Regions from separate parts of the Homo sapiens genome. Here regions 1, 3 and 4 are each linked to region 2. The links are contacts of gene promoters, found by promoter capture Hi-C in blood cells and fetal thymus (Javierre and others, 2016). All regions are on one chromosome and are shown on one strand. The core of a region is centred on a gene start or on the middle of the fragment in contact, and the rest is flanking DNA. Distances in the headings are between cores, read along the strand shown.

The links. Contacts are between HindIII fragments. The CHiCAGO score rates a contact against its expected background, and 5 or more counts as called.
Region 1: a fragment that was not itself captured here is called in contact with the fragment with the promoter of SPPL2A in region 2 in 3 of 17 cell types (naive CD8 T cells, non-activated CD4 T cells and total B cells); the score reaches 6.9 in naive CD8 T cells.
Region 3: a contact is called between a fragment that was not itself captured here and the fragment with the promoter of SPPL2A in region 2, in 1 of 17 cell types (naive CD8 T cells). The highest score is 7.5, in naive CD8 T cells.
Region 4: a contact is called between a fragment that was not itself captured here and the fragment with the promoter of SPPL2A in region 2, in 5 of 17 cell types (total B cells, activated CD4 T cells, naive CD4 T cells and 2 more). The highest score is 8.3, in total B cells.

What each region holds. Positions count from the first base shown.
Region 1 is chr15:49,621,830-49,624,623 of GRCh38, forward strand. All of the region lies in intron 1 of DTWD1 (DTW motif tRNA-uridine aminocarboxypropyltransferase 1), which reads left to right. Among named protein-coding and RNA genes, the nearest start is that of DTWD1, 2.2 kb to the left of the region's middle. The HindIII fragment of the contact is 493 bases long and covers 1,102-1,594 here.
Region 2 is chr15:50,764,444-50,767,290 of GRCh38, forward strand. SPPL2A (signal peptide peptidase like 2A) reads right to left here and starts at 1,263. Exons shown (of 15, transcript NM_032802.4): 1 at 1,025-1,263. The coding sequence starts at 1,090. RefSeq lists a silencer at 838-1,297. The HindIII fragment of the contact is 3,596 bases long and covers 130-2,847 here.
Region 3 is chr15:48,803,361-48,806,060 of GRCh38, forward strand. CEP152 (centrosomal protein 152) reads right to left here. Exons shown (of 27, transcript NM_001194998.2): 2 at 2,203-2,296. The coding sequence starts at 2,289. Among named protein-coding and RNA genes, the nearest start is that of CEP152, 6.4 kb to the right of the region's middle. The HindIII fragment of the contact is 2,862 bases long and covers 1-2,700 here.
Region 4 is chr15:48,877,382-48,880,110 of GRCh38, forward strand. The region is part of intron 4 of SHC4 (SHC adaptor protein 4); the gene reads right to left. EID1 (EP300 interacting inhibitor of differentiation 1) reads left to right here and starts at 753. Exons shown (of 1, transcript NM_014335.3): 1 at 753-2,729. The coding sequence starts at 796. The coding sequence ends at 1,359. RefSeq lists enhancers at 328-437, 708-1,007. The HindIII fragment of the contact is 1,047 bases long and covers 764-1,810 here.

The DNA.
Region 1 (2,794 bases), core at 98-2,597, 1.1 Mb before region 2:
GAAAAATGAATGTTGGACCTGTAGGTCCTATGTGACCAAGTTCTTAAAAACACTCTAAAGAAAATTGGAAGTGGTTTTTTTCTAATACTGAATTGGTCCACAATATAGGACAGGGGAGTCTGTATAGTGTTCCATTGGGAGGTGAGTCAGCTTACAATAATGGAAGAGGTAGAAGCTTTTTGTTATTATTTTGGAGAAAAAAAAATTGCCAGCCTGCCACTTGTGCTAGGCTGCAGACGGCCCATAAAGGTAGTTTGTCAGATACTTCAGTAGTGAGATGCTTACTGGATGTGTTTTGCAGAATGGTTTTGATTTAGTTAACAAGTGTTTGTTGAGTTCCTGCTGTTGCATAAGAATCAGGAATAGGTGAGATCAGGGAAGGAATCTGCTCTTACAGAGTTGAATGCTGGAGGGGATAGATTCACTAAAGTACCTCCACAATAAATGCATTTTTCCATGTCAAATATGTGGAACTAATAATAAGTACTCAAAGAGGTTTAAGACATTGCTGTGGCCCATCTATGAGTTAATAAGGAACTGAATTAGAATCCTGACTTTGAGAGTGAAGATAGAGGATTATATACAAGGTAGATGCAACTTGGTGAGTATAATTAATTTGGGGTGGAAATTGGGTAGAAGGAGGAATAAAAAATTAATGTATTTTTAGCCTTAAGTTCCAGAATGATGGACGCACCATCAAGGTGTTAAAATTGTTAGTTCCTTAGGAACAGTCTTTATGTTTTCTAAGTCTTTTTAGCCCCCATGACTCAAATTGTACTTCCTTGCACATATTTGATGTTAACAAGTATGTTTTAAAAATTTTAAATAACCCCATTTGCAATAAAATCATTTGCAATGATTTTCTCACAGTCGAGGCAGGCTGTTGGCTCGGTTAGGACAGATGCCCTGATCATGTAGTTTCAGAGACCACTGGAGGGAGCTGCCCATGATTTACAATTGCTGGCCTCTTCTACGTGGCCACCTCAGCCATAAGTGAGAGTATATAGGTGAACTAAGAGGTGGAGCCATAAACATTTCTCTTTTACTGTCTTACAGGTATTTGTGGTGGTTGATTTTTCTAGAGGAAGGTTATTTATATAAAGCTTCACTAATATCCATTTAGTTATGTGGATAGCAGGTCCATGAACTGCAAAGTGATATTTCTGAGGTATCTCTAGGAGGAATGCACTTTCAGTGCCCTAGGATAACTCCAAAAACTCACCAGTAGTTTTCTGTTAAATGTCAGGCAACCACAGTAACTTTCATGACATCCACAGGAACTACATTTTTCAGTCCCACTATGCCTGGGCCTTTGAGTGGTACATGCATTCCCACTAAATAGCTACTCCATTACCCAGGGAAATGAAGTCAGGTTGAGCTACTCCAATCAAATTTCATTTTTTAGGATGAATCCCATCATCTGAATAACTCAGGACTATTAAAGCCTCAAAATGTTTCTCTGTAAGAACCTCAGGCAACACCAGGACAAACCCAAAGAGAGTTTAGGTGAAACTTAGCTTCGTATGTGCAGCAAAGAGACGCCAACAGAGCATTTGCAACTCTCATTTCTGGGGACTATTAGGATCTCTTCCCAAGCTTTTTTTTTTTCTCTGTTTTAGAGATGGGATCTCACTTTGTTGTCCAGACTGTTCTCAAACTCTTGTGCTCAAGTAATCCTCCCACCTTAACCTCCCAAATGCTAGTATTATAGGCATGAGCCACCATGCGTGGCCCTTCCCAAGCTTGGAACTTCCTTACCTGGGTCGTAGATGGACTCTAGGAGATCTCCAAACCTCCTGAAATTGTGTGCAAAATATTGTGTCTGTATATGCATTTTCTAGGGATGCGGTTTAATATTTTCATGTGATTCCTAAAAGAATCTGAGGCTCAAGAAAAGAGGGCATCTTAATATCCTGCACTTTCAGTCATTGAGGGCATGATCACAAAGATCAAAGCCATTTTTAGGCAGGTGAGTTGGAGTGGCAGTCAGAAGTAGGTAAGATTTTCTATTTGTGAGGCAGGAACAAGGGATTGGACCATTGTTCTTAAATACTGCTTTCTTACCCAAAATGCAAATCTGTGCGTAATCAGTACACAGCAAAAATATTTACTGTATTTTGTTTTTCCCCTTGGGTACATTTGGCAAGTGCCTTTTTCTACTATAACCGGCGTTTTTGTATCTCTTTATTTGTATCTCAAACTCACTGGGACTTACAATCTTAAAAAAAAAAAGAAAAAGAAAAATTCATTTGATGAGTAATTAAATTAGTGCCACTAACTTCTTCTCAGCAAATTATGTTGTATTTTATGTTTCTCTGGACTTTTTGTTCACTTTCTGTTTGGGAGACCACAAAATGTTTCCTGCTGGAGTCACAGCATTTCTCTTGTCCCTGTTTCTACTTAAAGTGCCTGGAGCTTCGTAGTTAAACCACAATGCCAGAAGGCTTTATAATAAGAGAATTATTTTACAGCTGTGGAATGCATATCGAATCAATAGGGCACCAGTGTTGTTTCTCCCTTGAAAGATATCTTCCTTACAGGGTATACAGATAGCAATTTTGGCAGCCATCACCCTTCTTTGAAGAAAATATTAAGTGGGAAAGTTATTTTACCATTTTTCTCTAGTACTAAAGAATCTGAATGATGTATGTTTTTAAAAAACATAAATTCTTAGAGTAAGTGGACATTAATGTTACTCTGTAAATTTTTAAAATTTATAGGATAATATATTTTACCTTATGGGATATTTTACAAATTGTAATGAGTAGTAGATGCCTCTTATTTTTTATTGGAT
Region 2 (2,847 bases), core at 13-2,512:
TTTGGCTTAGATTTTGGTTTTTCAATAAATATTAAAGACACTTTTGTATTCACTAATACTAACCCCTTAAACTGGAGAGTCAGCAAAACAGTCTTTCAAAGAAATCACACATTCTAATAGAACGAAACAAGCTTACACGACACCAATTCTGTAATAAATAACATGCGTAAGTTTCCAACCTGAAACTCCCTAAGTAAAAGTCACTAGAAACAAAAACTGAAACACCGGGTTCCTGACACCCCACTCCCACACTGAAGCTCGAATTACTTGAGGCTGAATTTTAAAACACTATTACTTCTCTGTGACTATGAAAACAAATCTATGAACACATATTTCTTACTTACATTTAACCGACGCTCCCCACCCATCCCTTTAAATTAGGCAGAAAACTGAAAACCACTAAAAGCATTACATTTTGGTGTCTTCTTTTAAAAGTTATTTTAAATTACTGCTATTAAAACCCCCCCTCCAAAAAAAAAAAACCCTCATAACAGAATCAAATGAGCCCTAAGGCGAAGCAGGAGCTACAGTGGGGGAAGGGAATTTTAAAAAGACATCCGTGTTAGTGCAATTAAAGTGCAGTCCTCGAACCGCTAAACATACTGGCGCCTTGTATAATTTTTTTTTCTTCCCAAGGGTAAAAAGCGGTAAGAAAGGCTTAGACAATAAAACCCAGAGGTCAATTTTAAATATGCTGGGACAGTGAGCAACTATCGAGAAGCATCAAGGTCAACGCAACCTAAGGGGCTCCTCTGATCTTTTTGCGGTAGGTATTTCGCCAGACTTCAATGGGCGGGAACCGAGTGGGGGGCGGGAAAGTTGGGGGAAAGAGGGTGGAAAAGAGGAGGGTGGAAGGAAAGAGATGAGTAATGGAAAGAGGAGGGGAGGAAAGAGGAGTGCGAGAGCAGGCCGCGGAGGTGCGGGCAGAGGGGAGGCCGGGCGAGGAGTAGGGGAAGGGAGCCCCGGCCTTGGCCCCGGCCCCGCCCAGCCCCTGGGAGGCCTGCGCGCCTTCCCGCCCCCTTACCAGCTGGAGCAGGAAGCCCCAGAGTAGGGCGGCCCCGGCAGGGGACAGCCGCCGCTGCGGCCCCATCGGACTGGTGGGTGCCGGGTGGGACGGCACGGTGCGGCGCAGCTCACTCGGCGGGGTAGGCTCGGAGTCCCGCCGCTGCGCTGCCTCCGTGGCCGGACCGGACCGGACAGGCGCGGGCGGCCGGGCTACGACTGGACCGCCGCTGCTACAGCGGCCGCCACAGCAGCGCGACTTCCTCTTCCGGCCCCGCCCGTAAGATGCGGAAACCCCCGCGCCGGGCTCGGAGAGTCCCAGCGCTCTCCCGGTATCCAGGCGTCCCGGCGTCCCGGCGCTACGAGGCCACCGGCTGCGGGTCTGAGCCTGTCGCTTTCCGGCTGCCCGACTTTAACTCACACCGAAGCCTGGCGGGAGAACGGATTTCTCAAGGCTCGGAAGTGTCTGAGCGTCTGCTCGGTTCCCCAGTAACTACCCGAGTGTTGCATGCAGCCAGAAATCTAAGGGTCACCCTAATTCATCTGCCTGTCATTTGTTCCTGGCCACTCTGACTCACCACATAACCCAGATCCATCCACTTTCTCCAGAACTGCTGCCACCACTCTATCCAGGCCACCAACTTCCCTCTCCTCCAAACGGGTCTCAGTTTCCCCTCCGGACAGCCCAGTAGCCACATAACAGTCCCAGAGCCATCTTTCAAAACATATAAGTCAGATCATGTCTCTCTCTATCACACTTGGAATAAAATAAAAACTTGGCCGGGTGTGATGGCTCACACCTGTAATACCAGCATTTGGATGGCCGAGGTGGGCGGATCACAAGGTCAAGAAATCGAGACCATCCTGGCCAACATGGTGGAACCAAGTCTGTACTAAAAATACAAAAAATTAGCTGGGCGTGGTGGCACGCACCTGTCGTCCCAGCTACTCGGGAGGCGGAGGCAGTAGAATCGCTTGAACCGGGTAGGCGGAGGTTGCAGTGAGCCGAGATTGTGCCACTGCACTCCAACCTGGGCGACAGAGCGAGACTCGGTCTCCAAAAAAAAAAAAAAAAAAAAATCAAAACTCTACTCTAGCCTGCAAAGGTAAATCTGGCCCCTGCCTTCCTGTCTCCCCATCTTCACTACTTTCCCACACTTTAAGGCGCACGGACCTTTGGCCCTCCCGGCCTTTGCTCTGGTGGGCCGCCCGGACTTTGCTCTGGTAGTCCTCCCTGCTGGAGTGCTCTTCTCTCCAAAGCTCAGAATGCCTGCCTTGTTGACATTCACTTATCAGCTTCAATGTCGCTTCCCCAGACGGGACTTCCTGACATACCCAATCTAAAGTACCTGTCCAGTCACTTTCTTTTCTTTTCCTTTCTCTTTTTTTTTTTTTTTTTTTTTTGAGACGGAGTTTCGCTTTTCTTGCCCAGGCCGGAGTGCGATGGTGCAATCTCGGCACACTGCAACCTCCGCCTCCCAGGTTCAAGCAATTCTCCTGCCTCAGCCTCCCCAGTAGCTGGGATTACAGGCGCGTGCCACCACACCCGGCTAATTTTGTATTTTTAGTAGAGACGGGGTTTCACCATGTTGGTCAGGCTGGTCTCAAACTCTCGACCTCAGGTGATCCACCCGCTTTGGCCTCCCAAAGTGTTGGGATTACAGGCATGAGCCACCGCACCCGGCCTGTCCAGTCACTTTCATATTATTGTTTATTTTAATTATCTGCACAGCACTTTTCATTCTATGTATAGGTTCATTTATTTATGCCACCTCCCACTTCATAGCAAGGGGTGTCTTTGCTTTGTTGACTGCTATACCCTTTACATCTACAGTATTTGGCATA
Region 3 (2,700 bases), core at 168-2,667, 2.0 Mb before region 2:
CACCCAATTTATTACTTTAACTTGTAGTGACAAAGTATACATACAGCTGAAGATTTGTGAACAGTTCCGAAGTTTGTTACTAAAATTTGAACCTCTCTAGCCTCTCATCTCACTTTTTCCCTTGCAGCAATTATTTTTTAAAGTAAAAATATTTTTATTAACATGAAGTTTTTTACAAATTTAACCATAATCATCATGTTAGAGTCAATTCAGCTATATATCCTTCCACTCTGCTAGAAATACTCATTCTTAGATACTTGATCTTTCAAGAACAACTTTTCCCCTGAAATTCCCTATCCCAGCATACAATCTATCAAAGAGGTGATCCCAAATAGCTGTTTTCTATATTATCTAGAATTAATTGCCTCCTTAACTAGTATCCCCTCTAAAATTTTAACCACACAATACACTGGCAGACCTATCTCTCTAATATATTTCTCAATGAAAAATCACCTGTCAAAATATTTTTTCTTCTTTACAGTAGTGATTATTTAAACTGACCTTCTCAAGAATCCCAGTGGCTAAACCCCAGCCAACTATCCAAGCCCAGTCATGAATACCTCATGCTGCAGGTTCAAAGTAACAGAAAATCCTCATTCCCATCCTTGCCACAATTGTTGTGAGGGGCCCTGCCAAAATCCGGAAACCCTCACCAGGGTCATAAACTCAAATGCCCTCAGGGCCCTGGCAGAGAATTTACCAGAGTGAAGCAGGCAGGTCTGAGTGCATAAGCCCATGTCTGTGTGAGAAGTGGGGACTGTGGCCAGCTGGGGAAGGAGAGCCACTGCTCAGTTCCAGCCCGCCTGCTGCCATGTGCAAATACAGGCCAGGTGTGGCCAGGGCTTTGGATGTTTTTTAGATAAGCCAGAGACTCTGCAGTGCTGCATAAAATTTTCCCATCTTCAAATACAGATTCAATTTTTTAAAAGCACTCTGCAACCAACAATACCTGTCTGAACCAAATCCAGCAAGTTGCCAGTTTTCTATCACTGCCTTAATTCTACCACCAGCCACATGAGCAATGGTCAACTGACCCTATTCCTTGCTTCCTGTTAATACTCATGGTCCACAATAACTATTAAAAAAGACTTTTTTACATGTTAGAAAATGGGTCATATAAAAAATAGCGTCAGGACAAAAGAAGCCTTTTATCACAGACAATCAAGAAATTTGACTTACACTAAAAACAACCAAAACAACTAAATTGACTTCCACCAATAACACTATTACTGCTGCTATTACTATTGCCACCATTTACTGAACATTTGCTATGTGCCAAGAATTCTGCTAAACACTTTACATATAAATAATATGGTCTCTCCCTTTTATTCCTTTCCTTCTATAATCTATTCACCATGCAGCCTTCTGAAAGATCTTCAAAAATATGATATCAATTTTCCCTGCTTAAAATCCTCCACTGGCTTCCCATTGTTCTTAGAATAAAATACAAACACCTTATCATGGCTTTCCATGATCTGACACCCACATCCACCACCCAACACTGGCTCATATATACCCAATACCATGGCCTTCTGGCCGCTCCACATGATCTGTGGCATACACGGGGTCTCTTCCCAACTTCCCAGCTTACACTCATTGGTGTTTTGGCGTAGACTGCTCTTCCTCAGGCTTCTGCATGGCTGGTTCCTTCTCATGAGTCAAGTCTCAGCTCATATATTGCCTCCTCCCACAGACCCTCCCTCACCACCCCATCTACAGCAATCCCCTATCAATTGCTTTCATAGCACTCCAATTTGTTTCCCTGTCATTTATCAATGATAAATTATCACTCACTCAAATTACTTTACTCACTTGTTTACTTGTTTATTGTCTGCCTCCACTAGGATGTAAACTACCCAAAGCAAAGAGCCTTGTCAGACTTGTTCATGGCAATGTTTCAAGCACCTAGAAACTAACCTTCCACTTCCAAAGCCAACCATTACCTCCTAAATGAAAAGAAAAATTTAACCATTTATCTGATGGTATTATTCACAGTTGTGTTTTATTCCTGTCTCAAAAACAGAAGCATTCCACTTATTCACCTTTTCAGTCTAAATAGCAAGCAGATTTTAGGGTTGTTTTTTTTTTAAAAAATCCAAATCCCTTCAAAATGACACAAGATGATACAATTTTGATCAAGAAATAAAACTTGTTAAAGATTGGGTTTAGTGTCTCTTTTTTTTTTTTTTTTTAACAACTTACCTCTTTCTCTCTTTCATAGTCCTCTTCGTCATACTCTTCATCTTCATTTTGCACTGGTAGTGCCACACTGCCAAAGTCTAATGACATGGTCCTCCTGTGGGAAGGGAAAGATGTTTGGTTTCTGGACACCACATAAAATCTCCCCAGGACAAACTACATAAGAGATGCCATACATACACAAAGTGAAAAGACAGAAACAGACTGGGAGAAAATATGTATAACTCAGTTATGGCCAATAAAAATAATGGTGATTCACCGAAAATAGCTATATGACAGCAATTCATGGAAAAGAAAACATGCAAATAGGTAATAAAGCTATGAATAGACCTTTCTAGTGGTCTGAAGAGTATAAAACAGTAAGATTTTTGCCGACATGAAAAATAAGATGACAATAATAATAAACTAGAAATGTGCCAAATGTAAAAATCTTAAGCTCAAACAAAACTTCAAATGTGATATATTAAACATGGCACAGGCAGTACCCTATTGCTTCATTTT
Region 4 (2,729 bases), core at 37-2,536, 1.9 Mb before region 2:
TTGAATCCTGTAAGTATACACAGTCATATAATTCATATAAGTATATACAACTTAAAACCTGAGGCTTTTAAGTTGAAGGTAAAAACAGGTAAAACATGTTTTTAAAAAACACACAAAATAGTATTTTGCTGTCAATACATAAAGATACATGTAAATGCAAATAAAAAGAATTCAAAGAATACACACCGCATTGCTAATAGTGGAAAGATACCTCCCAGGCGAAAAGAAATGGGACCAAGTATTTCTTCACTATAACTAAAAAAAAAAAAAGTACAATATATCTGTTGTTTGTGAATTTAACTTTTTAAATGAAAACACTAAAAGGACAAAATGGATTAGTTCTTAATATGCTGATCTGTGGTTATGGATGTTGTCTGGTTTGGAGACGTGGATTTACAAGTCATCAGTACATCGGTAAATTGCCCAGGGGAAGAGGAAGGGGGGGAAGGAGCATTAAATGTTACGAAGGCCATGTAAGGTTATTTTCCGGTTTGCAGCATTACAAGCAGCAGTAGGGTTAAGTAACACAGAAACTGTTACGCTCTTGCATGCAGGGTCCCTAGATACGAAGTTCGAATCGATGGAAACGTAGCTCAAAAGGCGACGCCAACACCCCGGAGAAAACACTGAGCTACTCCAACCACAGTGGCGCGCCAAGTAGGAGGCGGTACCTGAGGACCACGCCTGCGCGCGGGGTTACGCAAGCGCGCAGCCTTTGCGCACGCGCACGAACGCACGGCCGCGCAGCATCTGTCTTGCTGGAAGCTTTTTCCTAGAGGTTGAGCGGTTTGCACAATGTCGGAAATGGCTGAGTTGTCCGAGCTGTATGAAGAGAGCAGTGACCTGCAGATGGATGTGATGCCTGGCGAGGGTGACCTTCCGCAGATGGAGGTAGGCAGCGGGAGCCGGGAGCTATCCCTGCGTCCCTCCCGCAGCGGGGCCCAACAGCTCGAGGAGGAAGGCCCAATGGAGGAGGAGGAGGCCCAGCCAATGGCGGCGCCAGAGGGGAAACGGAGCCTTGCTAACGGGCCCAACGCTGGGGAGCAGCCAGGCCAGGTGGCGGGCGCAGACTTCGAGAGCGAGGACGAGGGCGAGGAATTTGATGACTGGGAGGACGACTACGACTATCCCGAAGAGGAGCAGCTCAGTGGTGCCGGCTACAGAGTATCAGCCGCTCTTGAAGAAGCCGACAAGATGTTTCTGAGAACAAGAGAACCAGCCCTGGATGGCGGGTTTCAGATGCATTATGAGAAGACCCCGTTTGATCAGTTAGCTTTTATCGAAGAGCTTTTTTCACTGATGGTTGTCAATCGTCTGACCGAAGAACTCGGCTGTGATGAGATTATTGATAGAGAGTAGTTAGATGCTGTTAAAAGAGGAGGAAACTACTTGAGGAGGGACCCAACTTTCCGCTATCTTTTGGGTTCATTCCAAATAGTTTTGTGCCATTGAAAAACTTGACCTTCAAAAAAATTTGTTTTTCAGAATAGAACACAATAGGACAGTGACTGCACAGTTGTGAAAAAGGAAGAGAATCATTAAAGAAAAAGAAAAAAGATTTTAAGACCGTTGAAATCAATTATCAAGAACGTCCTAAAACACCTATGGCTTTGACTTTGTTATTGATCCAGATTATTTTCCTTGCATTGGGGAAAATATCTTTCATATTTGTTTGCTGTAAAGATGGTTTTGCAAGAATAAGTCATGACCAAGACAAACTGCCAATACAAAAGCCCACTGATACTAATTATATAATGAGAAAAAAATGTATCCAACTAGGACACATATCTTTTGAGTTATTTGGACTGAAAGCTTAAGAAAACTTGGAAAATTCTATTTTGTGATCTAGTCAAGCCACAGTTATCAAAGGCTACATTTTCAGTGTAAGATAAATGGATGAGTAAACTCAAATATGTATCACGTGTGCTTTGTATCTTAAGATGTGTTTCCAAGAGCATCTGAAATTTTGTTTGTACATGTATCTTGATCATTTATAAAGCCACTGTGATCTATAAATCAAGAAAATCCATTGTCATAACCATTTTTAAAAGTCAAAAATTAAGACATCCTTAATTAAAAAGTTTCAAATCTAGACACTAAATGTGTGTGAATGTACAAAGAAAACAAACCATTGCTTATGCTGTTATATACTAGAGAAATTTTGTTTTGCTTGCTGTTTTAACTTGACAGATGAAGGACTTTAGTTGAACTTCATATTGTAAGAACTGTTAATAAAAGTTGTCAAGTAAAAAGCGCTATATCTAAAAAGACTTTATGAACAGTTATTCTATCAACTTTTAAAGGTTTTAAACCTGCCCAGAAATTACCTTGGTATCTGAAGTTTCCCTCTGTCTCCTCCTCTAATTAAGCTTGTTATTTGTCATGCACCAGCATTGGAGATAATAAAATTTCTTGTTCTGTGTATTTTGTTTGGCTAATAGTATTGCATACATACTTTCTCTGTATACTACTTTCTATTGTATGTGTTAACCAGTATTAAGGGAAAATGATCCAGCTTCAGCTATCTAATTCACAAATTAATTTCTGGAAATTAAACTTTGTAAATTAAGTTTTTGCCTATAAGAATTTGCTGGTCTGGGAAAACCTGCCCTATCAATGAGTATGTTGCCGTGGTTACCTTACTAAGATGCTGAAGTTCTAGGAGAGTAATGATTACATCAGAAGGCTAGGTTCAGCAAAATAAGTGTATCAGCAGGTTTTATCATGAT